3 separate regions of the Homo sapiens genome follow, and all the other regions are linked to region 2. Evidence: promoter capture Hi-C in human tissues and cell types (Jung and others, 2019). All regions are on one chromosome and are shown on one strand. Each heading gives the region's core, a stretch centred on a gene start or on the middle of the fragment in contact. The rest is flanking DNA. Distances are from core to core; before and after follow the strand shown.

Region 1 (4,306 bases), core at 882-3,381, 580 kb after region 2:
AAAAATAGATTCCCAGATCCCATGCCCAGGGATTCCAGATGGATGATCTGCTGTGAGGCCTTACAATCTGTATTTTTGAAAGCTCCCCTAAGTGATTTTGATGAATAGCTGGTGGGAAGCACTGATGTAGGCAAGCCCTTACCAGCAATAATATCTGCTCAGATGTATTACTCTGCTTAGCAAATACCTCTTACACATACTTGTGAGACAGATCTATCTTCTGGAACCAAGTAGATGTGAAAATTCCCAATACAATGTGTCCCCAACCCAATGTCATGATCCTTACCCTGTCTACCATGAAATCAATGGCATCAGCCATCATAGGGTCCACCGGGCCAGATGAAAAATTTCCAAGAACTATTTTTTTGAGCATAAATGCAGGCATCAGCCAAAAGCTGTAAAACACAAAGACCTTATAATTTAAACTTCCAAGACTACACATGGCAAATATTCATTCAACATTAAAGCTTTGTATTAGCTTGGGATCTAGAAATAAAAAGTCCTAATCCCCTCCTCCAAAGAGCTCAGCATCTAGTTTTTACACACACTTTCCCAAGCTTCCAAAGAGTTATGGCTTCATATAATTAAACTTTTATTTGAGGATTTAGGATAATTATAAGAGATATTTCAAAATACCTTTACTGAGATAGACATTCTGATGAGTCCAAGATTGTTTTTTTTCTCTAATTGGCCCTATTTCCAAGGATTAAACTATTTCTTTTGGAAAACTGAATATTAAGAGAAGTATTCTTTCCTTCTGGTTGATATTATGTTTTTATCGATTGATATTTCAAAACAGATTTCAAAATACCAATATGAAAGCTATTGCACCTCCCCAAATTTGCTACTATTAGATTCAACTTGGCTAATTCAAGGCAAATTGATATTTATAGATTTATTTTTTAAATTTATTATTGTTATTATTTTTTGAGACAGAGTCTCAGTCAGTTACCCATGCTGGAAGTACAGTGGCATGATCTCGGCTGGGTGCAACCTCTGCCTCCCGGGCTCAAGCAATTCTCATGCCTCAGCCTTTCGAGTAGCTGCGACTACAGGCACATGCCACCACGCCCGGCTAACTTCTGTATTTTTAGTAAAGATGAGCTTTTGCAATGTTGGCCAGACTGGTGGTGAACTCCTGGCCTCAAGTGATCCACCCACCTCAGCCTCCCACAGTGCTGGGATCACAGGCGTGAGCCACTCCTGGCCTCTTTTTATTTTTTAATTAAAAAATTTAAAAAAAAACTTTTAGAGACAGGGTCTCACTCTGTTGCCCAGGCTGAAGTGCAGTATTGTGATCATAGCTCACTGTAGCCTCAAACTCCTATCAAGTGATCCTTCTACCTTGGCCTCCCGAGTAGCTGGGACTACGGGCTCGTACCACCAGGCCTGACTAATTTTTTAAAAATTTACTGAGCTGGGGGAGCCGGGGCCAGGCACGGTGGCTCATGCCTGTAATCCCAGCACTTTGGGAGGCCAAGGTGGGCAGATCACGAGGTCAGGAGATTGAGACCATCCTGGCTAACACGGTGAAACCCCGTCTCCACTAAAAATACTAAAAATTAGCCGGGCTTGGTGGCGGGCGCCTGTAGTCCCAGCTACTCGGGAGGCTGAGGCAGGAGAATGGCGTGAACCCAGGAGATGGAGCTTGCAGTGAGCCAAGATCGTGCCATGGCACTCCAGCCTGGGCGACAGAGCCAGACTCCGTCTCCAAAAAAAAAAATTTACTGAGCCAGGCGCAATGGCTCATGCCTGTAATCCAGAACTTTGGGAGGCCAAGGTGGGTGATCACAAGGTCAGGAGTTCAAGACCAGCCTGGCCAAGATGGTGAAACCCCGTCTCTACTAAAAATACAAAAATTAGCCAGGGGCGGTGGCCAGCGCCTGTAATCCCAGCTACTTGGGAGGCTGAGGCAGGAGAATCACTTGAACCTGGGGGGCAGAGGCTGCAGTGAGAACGTGCCACTGCACTCCAGCCTGGGCAACAGAGCGAGACTCCCATCTCAAAAAAGAAAATTTTTTTTCTGTAGAGACAGGATCTTGCTCTGTTGCCCAGGCTGGTCTAGAACTCCTGGACTCAAGCAATGCTCTTACCTCTGCCTCCCAAAGTGCTGGGATTACAGGTGTGAGCCACTGTGACTGGTCAGATCTTTACGGATTTCTATATATGATCTTTAGTTTATATTTATTCCATTAATTTCAACTGTTAAGAGCCATCATGGAGGGCAAACACTAATTTCTGTAAACCTATGACGAAAATTACTTAGATGAGGTGCAAACTACCTTCTGATGCTTATTACCACTGGGACAGCCTTGCTGGAAGTTGAGCTTCCCTCAAAAGGACCACTAGGTCACCTTCCAGTTAACTTTCTAAGTTCTCTCCCAGCCCCATCACTTTCTTATCTTTTGAAGGTGATGAGGTCTAAGTACGCTCTGTAAGGGGTGGACCCTGTTGACTTTGCTCACTCCTGGATCCTCAGTGTGTGGCACACAGTAAGCACTCAGATATTTGACAATAAGCAGCTGATGTGCCAGAGCACAAACTGAATGGGGGCTGTCTTGGCATTCTAACAATTAGAACAGCAATAAAAATCACCAAAAATAATGAGCATTATTTAGTGCATTATCTGGACGGGAAGGATTTGTAAAGTAGCTAATGTATACAAGAAATTGTTGCATGAATGCTGAGTAATTACTAAGATAACATCAGAAAAACTAAAAAATAGCTGGGCACAGTGGCTCATGCCTGTAATCCCAGCACTTTGGGAGGCTGAGGCGGGCGGATCACGAGGTCAGGAGATCGAGACCATACTGGTGAACACGGTGAAACCCCGTCTCTACTAAAAACATAAAAAATTAGCCAGGCATGGTGGCGGGCGCCTGTAGTCCCAGCTATTCGGGAGGCTGAGGCAGGAGAATGGCGTGAACCTGGGAGGCAGAGCTTGCAGTGAGCTGAGATCGTGCCACTGCACTCCAGCCTGGGCGACAGAGCGAGACTCCATCTCAAAAACAAACAAACAAAAAAACAAACAACAACAAAAAAAACTAAAAAATATCAGAGTGCAATTTTAAGTAGATGTGAAAACGATATTTCCCTATACATTATTTGAAAACACTGATCATACAGATGTGTTTACTCACTGGGCTTTTTTTTTGAAGTAGGGTCTTGCTCTGTCACCCAGCCTGGAGTACAGAGGCACAGTTGTGGCTCACTGCAGCCTTGAACTCTTGGGCTCAAGCGATCCTCCTGCCTCAGCCTCCTGAGTAGCTAGGACTGCAGGTGCATACCATGATACCTGGCTAATTTATTATTATTGTTATTTGTAGAGATGGGGTCTCACTATGTTGCTCAGGCTGGTTTCAAACTCTTGGCCTGAAGTGATCCTCCTGTCTTGGCCTCCCAAAGTGTTGGGAGTACGGCATGAGCCATCACACCTGGCCACTGGGCTTTATTTTAAGGCTAGAGCCTCGCCTTGCCAGCAATGAAAGAAGTGCACAGTAAGCCAGCTGTATGGCATCATAGATACCTACCAATTACTTAAAATGATAAAATCAATGAAAGGATGGCTCCTAGGAAACAAGTACCCCACTGGCTGCACCCAAAGCATTTCCACCATTTTGTTTTTGGTTTGTTTTTTTTTTGAGATGGAGTTTCGCTCCTGTTGCCTAGGCTGGAGTGCAATGGCGTGATCTCGGCTCACCACAACCTCCGCATCCTGGGTTCAAGTGATTCTCCTGCCTCAGCCTCCTGAGTAGCTGGGATTATAGGCATGTGCCACCTTGCCCAGCTAATTTTGTATTTTTAGTAGACAGGGTTTCTCCACGTTGGTCAGGCTGGTCTCGAACTCCCGACCTCAGGTGATCCGGCCGCCTCGGCCTCCCAAAGTGCTGGGATTACAGGTGTGAGCCACCGCACCCAGCCTCATTTCCACCATTTCTATCTTTTGGAAGAACAGACTAATATCAAGGGTCATGATGTGCAGAACATCTGTTGACAGACCAAATGCTCTATTCTTTCCATTTGGAGAACATATCTCAAGGAAATAAATTGGAAAGGGAAAAAACCCAGTAATTTGTACAAAGATTTACTGTAGAATGTGATGAAGAATTGGGAAAAGCCAAATGCCTAATAAAACTATGTCAGTCAATACACGGAACTGTTTACACATAATAATAAGTGGGATAAACAGAACATGGTATTAGTTACATAGAAATACTGAATAAAAACAGCAAAAGTATATTAATGAATATTAAACAAAATTTAAAAATTTAAGGTAATAAAAAAAGCTGAATTTAGAGTTCATTCA
Region 2 (4,168 bases), core at 1,195-3,694:
GAGGCGGGAGGATCACCTAAAGTCGGGAGTTTGAGACCAGCCTGACCAACATGGAGAAACCCCATCTCTACTACAAATACAAAATTAGCCGCGCATGGTGGCACATGCCTGTAATCCCAGCTACTCGGGAAGCTAAGGCAGGAAAATCGCTTGAACCCGGGAGGCGGAGGTTGTGGTGAGCCAAGATTGCACTATTGCACTCCAGCCTGGGCAACAAGAGGAAACTCCATCTCAAAAAAAGAAAAAGAAAAAAAAAAGAAAAAGAAAAAGAAATACCTAGATAACTTGTAAAGCATTGCTTCTGGGTGCCTTTGAGGGTATTTCCAAAGGAGACTGGCATGTGAGTCAGTGGACTGAGTGGGGCAGATCTGCTCTCAATGTGAGCGGGCACCATCCAATTAACCAAGGACCCAGAACAAAAAAGGTGAGAAAAAATATTTCTTCCTTCTGGAGCTGAGACACTCTTCTCAGACTTCTGCTCCCAGACATCAGAACTCCAGGCCCTCCACCTTGAGACTTGAAGATTTCACAACTTGGACTGAGCCAGCTACCAGCATTCCAGGGTCTCCTGCTTGCAGATGGCCTGTCATGGGTCTTTTCAGTCTCCATAATTTCCTGAGCCAATTCCCTAATAAATCTCCTCATAGATCTGTATCTATATCTATCTGTTATCTATCCTATTGGTTCTGTCTCTGGAGAACCCTAACACAGGGACTGAATAAATAAACAGGTAAATGACTTTGATACCTTACAATTATTATTAAATGTAGTGGAGTTTTACAAAGAAACAAAACTTGTACCCACAATTAATAAACATTCACAGAGTATTTTGACTTTTTCTTAAAAAAAAAAACCCTGGAAAATCATCTGCTTTCCAAATTAATGATATCTACGACAATCTAAATGGAATGTAAATCAATACACTTATGAGGTTTTGTTTTGTTTTTGTAAAAAGGCCTTGCTCTGTCGCCCAGGCTGGAGTGCAGTAGTGCAATCAGGGCTCACTTCAAGCTTGACCTTCCAGGCCCAAGTGATCCTCCCACCTCAGCCTTTCAAGTAGCTGAGACTACAGGCATGTGCCACCATGCCAGGCTAATTTTTTTCATTTTTGTAGAGATGAGGATTCTCCTTATGCTGCCCAGACTGGTCCGGAACTCCTGGGCTCAAGTGATCCTCTTGCCTCTGATTCCCAAAGTGCTGGCATTACAGGCATGAGCCACCACGCCCAGTGTGTGTGTGTGTGTGTGTGTGTGTGTTTGTGTGTGTGTCTCCGTGTGCGCTCGGGTGATCCTCCCGCCTCGGCCTCCCAAAGCGCTGGGATTACAGGCATGAGACACTGCGCCCGGCCAATACACTCATGATTTTAATTATAATATTTATGCCAATGAAAACACTAGCAAAAAGGTAAAACAGCTGCCAATTTAATGTGACCACTTAGTCTAAACAGGCTAGTAGAAATGAAGAACTTTTAACCTGCAAATGCAACAAAAAGCCAGAAATGAATGGGAAGACATTATGATCTCCAGAAAAGTTTGGCTAAATTTTCCCCAGCCCATTGTCTTAGCGGGGTAGGGAATTGCAGACAGCCCTTAAATACTGTCATTTTTGGTTGAGAACTCATGTGGAAAGTCCTCAAAGCCAAATTCCAACTCCTGTTTTACTGTTTTTTACCCTCGAGCTTGCTGAGTTGTCTTGGCTCTCCTGGAAAATACATGGCTCAAAAAATAAAATAGAAGTTTTAGCGGTGTGAATCTAGTAGTCGACTACAGGGGGTATTAAAAATAAACACTCCATCCCGGTTAACACGTGAAACCGCGTCGCTACTAAAAATACAAAAAAAATTAGCCGGGCGTGGTGGCGGGTGCCTGTAGTCCCAGCTACTTGGGAGGCTGAGGCAGGAGAATGGCATGAACCCGGGAGGCGGAGCTTGCAGTGAGCCGAGATCATGCCACTGCACTCAAGCCTGGGCGACAGTGCGAGACTCCGTCTCAAAATAAATAAATAAATTAATTAATTAATTAAAAAATTAAAACCACCACCAGAGCAAAAACTTACAGCGCTTACAATACCTTCCACGTGCTGTTTTATTTTACATAAAACCATGACGATTAAAAAGCTGGCCTCTCAGCTTTCCGGGTATTGGTTTGTTTTCCCCCTAAACTGTCGTTTTTATAGGCACTTGCACTGTCTTCTTAGCAGAATTGCCAATGGCCTTCCTCGAGTCCTACGTTTAGCGATTGGCAAGAATCATGCACTGACAGAGCTCGACTCCGGAGGGCACAAGGAAGTAGACAACAAAGCAGGAAGAAGCAGGAGGCGCACAGATGGGCGGGATCTGCACTGGAGGCGGTGCGACCTTGCGGGGCGGTGCAAGCTGGCGGAACCCGCGTGAGAGAGGTTGGTGTTGCGAAGGGAACTAGTCCGGTGCAGGACGTGGGGCTTTTGCAGCTCAGCTGGTTCCGGCTGGGGAAGATGGCGGTGGCTGGGGCGGTGTCCGGGGAGCCGCTGGTGCACTGGTGCACCCAGCAGTTGCGGAAGACTTTCGGCCTGGATGTCAGCGAGGAGATCATTCAGTGAGAACAGTTCGGGTCCAAGCGGGGAAGGAGCTCTGGGATGTGCACTGCCTGAGCGAACCGGGAAGCGGGGAGGACTGAAAAGTTAAGAGAGAAATGTGATAAAGGGGCTGCAGTCTGTAGTCTGTAGGCGTCGAATTTTGGCCTCCACCTTTGTAGTTTAGTTTCTGGAATAGGGTGTCCGGCTCCACAGTCTGCCGGTCGGGCTTTTTTCCTGGGAAGACGCCCAATCTGTAATAATTAGAAATGCAAGGCTGTCCCAGGAGCCAGTTTCCTTTCTAGAGAGAAGGGGCAGGTCAAACTGTATTTCCTAACTTTGAACCCCTTACTCTTTTATTTATTTATTATTATTGTTGTTATTATTGAGACGGAGTCTCTGTCGCCCAGGCTGGCGTGCGGTGGCGCGATCTTGGCTCACTGCAACCTCCGCCTTCCGGGTTCAGGTGATTCACCTGCCTGAGCCTCCCAAGTAGCTGGGATTACAGGCACGCACCACCACACCCGGCTAATTTTTAAAAATTTTTAGTAGAGTCAGTGTTTCACCATGTTGGCCAGGCTAGTCTCCAGCTCCTGATCTCAAGTGATCCGCCCGCCTCGACCTCCCAAAGTGCTGGGATTACAGGCATGAGCCACCGCACCCAGATATACTCTGAACATTTTAGTCGGCCCAATCTGAGTTGTGTCAGTAGAGCCAACAGGGTCAGCTGTGTCAATAGGACCTAGAATTTAAGTGGAAGCAGCGTGGTAGAGTACAAATAGCTTCTGACTCTGGAGTCTCAGGTTCTATATTCTGTTGTCGTTTACCTGTTTTAGAACCCAGGACAACTTAATTTTTCTCTCTGTACCCTGGTTTCTTCATTTATAAGATTAATCATTAGTAGAGCTTATCATGCTTTATGACTCCTATGAAATGGAGATGGTGTACATGACTTAATATCTACTTTCAACTGATTGAAGAACATTTGTTGCGCTGCTGTTACACGCCAGGTGCTGGGGTAACAAAGACAAGACAGTTGGGTTCCCCTTCGTTGATGAGTGCTGAGGTTGGGGAAATGAAGGGGCTTGTTGGAGCACAAAATAAAGGATTCTCATTAAGATTTGAAAAACTCGGAAGGTTTATTGGAAAGGATAACTTTCACCCGAGAACTAAGGAATAGACAGAGGTGGCGGTCCAAAGTGTTCAGGCAGGGGAGAAAACTACAAAAATGGGACTTGATCGAAGAACTGAAAGTGTTCCTTCATTTGATTCCTTGGTCACTGATGTTGAAACCTAAATTGCTGTTCTAGGGCTTTTGTAGGAAGTAAGATGAGTTTCTGAGTTTCGGAGAAAATAGACTTTTGGCAAGGAGACAGTTCAAGTAGGTTATTTTAATGGATTTTTTTGAGGCCCTAGGAGATGGCTCAAGCCCTTATTCCCAGCACTTTGGGAGGTAGAGGTGGGAGGATTGCTTGAGACTGGGAGTTGGAGACCACCCTGGGCAACATAGTGAGACCCTGTCTCTACAGAAATAAAAAAAGTAAACAACAAGATAAAGGATTTTTTTTAACACTAGAATAGACAACAAAACAAAACAGCGAAATCTTATGGTTTGGCT
Region 3 (4,498 bases), core at 1,838-4,337, 800 kb after region 2:
GGGATTTCTAACACTTTTTGTGCCATGAACCCCTTAAGCAGTCTGGTGAAGCCTCTGAATAGATCTTCTCAGAATAATATTTTTAAATGTATAAAATAAAATACATAACAAAGGAAACAAATTATAATGAAGTAGTTATCAAAAAATTTTTAAAATATGCCTCTTTATTAACAAGCAAAATTAAATAAGATCTAACAGCTTTTTAAATAATTACTATGATTTCAAAGTAGCAAAAAGTATGGACAATATTCTGAAATATCAGCAACTATAATGTGATATGAAAATATTTCTGATTTTGATTGATGACAAATCCACAGACACTTCTAAGACTACTGTGGATGTGTTGCCCACATTCATAGGCCAAGGAAACGTTGTGTTTCAGTTAGAGCTTAGTGAAAATAAAGTTCACAGAATCTCTGAATTCTATTCAAGGACCCTTTGGAGGCCTGTAAACCCCAGGTGAAGCTCTGAAAGCCAAAAAAGAGAAGTGTTTCTGTAAAGTATATTTCACCAGATTACCTGGCAGCAACCAGAAAAGACAATTTAAGTTTCACTATTTACAGAACTTTATCATACAGACAAAGCTTTCTAAATTTCAGAACAACTGTTTTTAAAAAGAAATACTAGTCCGGGTGCGGTGGCTCAAGCCTGTAATCCTAGCACTTTGGGAGGCCAAGGCGGGTGATCTCCTGGGGTCCAGGAGTTGGAGTCCAGCCTGACGAACATGGCAAAATCCCGTCTCTACTAAAAATATAAAAATTAGTGGGGCGTGGTGGCGCGCGCCTGTAACCCCAGCTTACTCAGGAGGCTGAGGCAGAAGAATTGCTTGAACCCAGGAGACGGAGGTTGCAGTGAGCCGAGATCGCGCTACTGCACTCCAGCCCGGGCAACTTAGCAGATTCCATCAAGACAGACACACAAAAAGAGGCCAGGCGCGGTGGCTCACGCCTGTAATCCCAGCACTTTGGGAGGCCGAGGCGGACGGATCACAAGATCAGGAGATCGAGACCATCCTGGCTAACACGGTGAAACCCCGTCTCTACTAAAAATACAAAAATTAGCCAGGCGTGGTGGCGGGCGCCTGCAGTCCCAGCTACTCGGGAGGCTGAGGCAGGAGAATGGCGTGAACCCAGGAGGCGGAGTTTGCAGTAAACTGAGATCTGGCCACTGCACTCCAGCCTGAGCGACAGAGCGAGACTCTGTCTCAAAAAAAAAAAAAAAAAAAAAAGAAAGAAAATAAGACAGACAGAAAGACAGATAGTAGATGGAAAGAAAGACAGAAAGGAAAGAAAGACAGGAAGGAAGGAAAGGAAGGAAGGAAGGAAGGAGAAAAGAAAAGAAAAAGAAAGAAAACAGTCGTTTTGAAAAGAAAAAAAAATAACTGCCTATCTCCTATGATTCAAAAATGTTCACGGACTCTTGGCTACAAGAGATCAGTAACACTTTCAAAGAAGCCGTCCCTGACCAAAGGGAACACACACATACTTCATCCACCCACTGGAAACTGTATTATTCTTTGTCTACTCCACTAGATTTAAACATGAGGGTGAGGACTTATTCACCACTCTACCTCCAGCACTAAAAGAAGGCCTGACACACAGTGGACCCTTGACAAATATTAATATATATCAGATAAATGGATTAAAATATGTCACTTTAAAGTGTTTGCAAATCGAATTCCTGGAATCGGGACATCTACTGGTTGAGGCTTAACATCGATTTAGGATTAAATTTACTCCCTTACATTTATATATCATTTTACAAAATGCTTCTGCCCACGTTACCTCATTCAATCCTTCCTTCTGTAGTAAAGAAACTGGAAGATATATTTAGTAAACAATAAGGATTTTATAATTGGCTTAGAAGTTAGATAAAAGGGGCCTTTTTAAAAATCCATCCAAGGGTCATAAACCGATAAGCCAAAATAAAACGAATTTGTCTAGAAGTCAGTCATTATAACAGGATCTAGCCTCGTGGTCTGACTTCCACAGATTTGAGGAAGAGAAAAAAAGTTTATTTTCCAGACTCTCTTGGCTGGGGCGCCATTCTTTCACAGCTTCAGATAAACAGAAAGAAAAGGTAAACAACATGCGCCACTCTTAGGAAACTACCTCCCGGTCAAGTTGGGAAAGCCAGCAAAGGACTGCTGAAACACCCAAGTACTTCCGAACCAACTCCTGCGGGACTTCTCCCCATCTCTCCCGCCGCTGTCCTGCGGGCCCCGGGGCTTGCCTGACGCCGGGAAGTATTGTGAACCTTGTTTATGTCCCAGTGTCAGGGCCGCACAGTGATAGTAACATCTCGGGTATCGCGCGGCTTGCGTCCGGGACGGCCAGCTGGGTGCCCCGAGTCCTGGGGGACCCTAGTAGGGACAGATCCTCAGCCGAGCCCCTCCTGGAGCCCCCAACGGGCCCGAGGGGGATCCCGGCCAGGCTGCGGAAGAAGAGCCGCAGCCATGGCAGGCGGCGGTCCCCGGCAGGGCTGAGTGGGATCTGGAGACATTTTTTAATAACAGGAGCATTTTGTGCCTTTCAGGGTTTCTACAAAGTGGCCGCATTCCGGCCCCAAAGTCAGCAGGCCTGAAAGCGTGCAGGCAGGCGCGTGGGAAGGAGTTTACTTCCAATTTGAGCAACGGCTGCTCCAGAGGTTGGCAGAGCCCCATTCCACGGGGAAAGTGGTGGGTGCCGGGCGAAGCGCCGCGCATTCCCTCACACTCCCCGGGTGCAGCAGGCCTCGTGCCCTCCCCGGGGCCCCCAACCATTGGCCAGTCCACCCCCCCCCCGACAGGCTGAGGGCTCAGGAGTGGCACTATTTCGTTACCTCTCTGCGCGGAGGCGAGTGAGGAGGTGATGAGCCGGACGGCCGCCGCGCCGCAAGTACAAGCACCGCAGCTGGGCATCTCCGCGAGGCCTAGGCCGGGGCTTCGCCCCCTGAGGACCTCCGGGTCACAGCGGCGTGAATCCTGCCCGCAAGGCGCGCTGACTCGGTTCCGAACCCTTTCGCGGGCCCTAGACCCCGTGGAGAGTTCACCTGCCCGGCAGCCAGGCCTTCACGCTTCTCTGCCCCACAGCCGTCTATTCACCAGAGTAGACACCCAACCCCCCCCTCCCTTCCCCTCCTTCTCCTTCTACCCCCACCCCCAGCCTACTGGGCCCGGGGAGCTTGCGCGCGCCTGCGCCCTAGGCCCGGGGAGGGGGCGGAGGGCGTGGGCACGCGCCGTGTTTGCGAGCTGGTGAAGCTACGTGAGGCGAAGGCGAGGGGGTGGTGCCCTGGGCGCCAATGAGTTCCCTACGGCAAGCGTCTAGCCCCAACTGGGGCGACTACAGGTCCCGACGCTCAAGGTTGCCAAAAGCCCTTTTATCCTAAAGTTGAAAGGTTTTGCGATAGACGCGGAGAGATGCATGCCGGGACTTGTAGTCCCGAGTCGTCATAGTCGAGCTCTTCCGGTCACTTTTAGTGGGCGGCAGGGAAGGTCAAGGTGAGGCTGGTGGCTTAACCCTCCAGGGGGAAGTCTCTAAAGTGCCTTGGTAGGCGCTGGATGCTTCAGATTCACTAAATTTCTTCCCCCGGAATTCCACATCCTGTGTTCCTTATCTTCTCATTCTCCTTAGTTTCATCACTTGTAACATGGAGTTGGTATTGTCAGTTAGTTCCCTGAGCAGCAATTGTTAGTTGGTAACAGCTCCGTCTCCTTGTTCTTTCAGGCCTCGTGGTGATAAAGCTTCTAGCTGTTGCTAGTCCGTGGGTGCTTTAAAGTCTTGAGGGTTTTCTTTTCTTTCTTTCTTTTTTTTAATTTAGTAAAGATGAGGTCTCCCTATGTTGCCCAGGCTGGTCTCAAACTCCTGGGCTCAAGTGATCCTCTCGCCTCGCCCTCCCAAAGTGCTGGGATTACAGGCGTGAGCCACCGCACCCGGCCGTGATTAAGGATGGCACTGCATAGATAACCTCTGGTCAGGTTCCTATCAGGCCATCCTCTCAAGTTATGAATTCAAAAGCACAGAGCCGGCTGGGCGTGGTGGCTCACACCTGTAATCCCAGCACTTTGGGAGGCCGAGGCAGGTGGATCACGAGGTCAGGAGTTTGCGACCAGCCTGACCCACATGGTGAAACCCCATCTCTACTAAAAATACAAAAATTAGGTAGGTGTGGTGGCGTACTCCTGTAATCCCAGCTACTCAGGAGGCTGAGGTGGGAGAATTGCTTGAACCCAGGAGGCGAAGGTTGCAGTGAGCCGATATCGTGCCATTGCACTCCAGCCTGGGCGACAGAGCGAGACTCCGTCTCAAAAAAAAAAAAAAAAAACCCAGAGCCATCTGAGATTATCCCTGTGAGAAAATGGATCCTTCACCAGGAAAGTGATGGCAAATACTTGTGGTCACATCAGCCCTTCCACATCACACCTACTTTCAGCTGTTTTCTGACAGATTAATGACGCTTTAAAAAGAAAGTCAAGTGCAGTTTTCCAGCTCAAATAGTTTACACTGGAGGAGTTAACTCC

What was found. The method cuts DNA at HindIII sites, captures the fragments that hold promoters and counts their contacts. A contact is called where the count stands out against the background at its distance.
Region 1: a contact is called between a fragment that was not itself captured here and the fragment with the promoter of TRIP4 in region 2, in 1 of the 25 tissues and cell types used here (aorta).
Region 3: a contact is called between the fragment with the promoter of CLPX here and the fragment with the promoter of TRIP4 in region 2, in 1 of the 25 tissues and cell types used here (dorsolateral prefrontal cortex).

The regions. Positions count from the first base shown.
Region 1 is chr15:64,969,828-64,974,133 of GRCh38, forward strand. SPG21 (SPG21 abhydrolase domain containing, maspardin) reads right to left here. Exons shown (of 9, transcript NM_016630.7): 6 at 287-395. Among named protein-coding and RNA genes, the nearest start is that of SPG21, 18 kb to the right of the region's middle. The HindIII fragment of the contact is 8,694 bases long and covers 1-4,306 here.
Region 2 is chr15:64,385,392-64,389,559 of GRCh38, forward strand. TRIP4 (thyroid hormone receptor interactor 4) reads left to right here and starts at 2,445. Exons shown (of 13, transcript NM_016213.5): 1 at 2,445-2,573. The coding sequence starts at 2,473. It also overlaps a transcript of PCLAF not described here. RefSeq lists enhancers at 2,160-2,660, 2,242-2,731, 2,661-3,161. The HindIII fragment of the contact is 11,205 bases long and covers 1-4,168 here.
Region 3 is chr15:65,182,255-65,186,752 of GRCh38, forward strand. It overlaps CLPX (caseinolytic mitochondrial matrix peptidase chaperone subunit X), which reads right to left and starts at 3,088. Exons shown (of 14, transcript NM_006660.5): 1 at 2,821-3,088. The coding sequence starts at 2,899. RefSeq lists an enhancer at 2,721-3,605 and a silencer at 3,027-3,336. The HindIII fragment of the contact is 6,593 bases long and covers 1-4,498 here.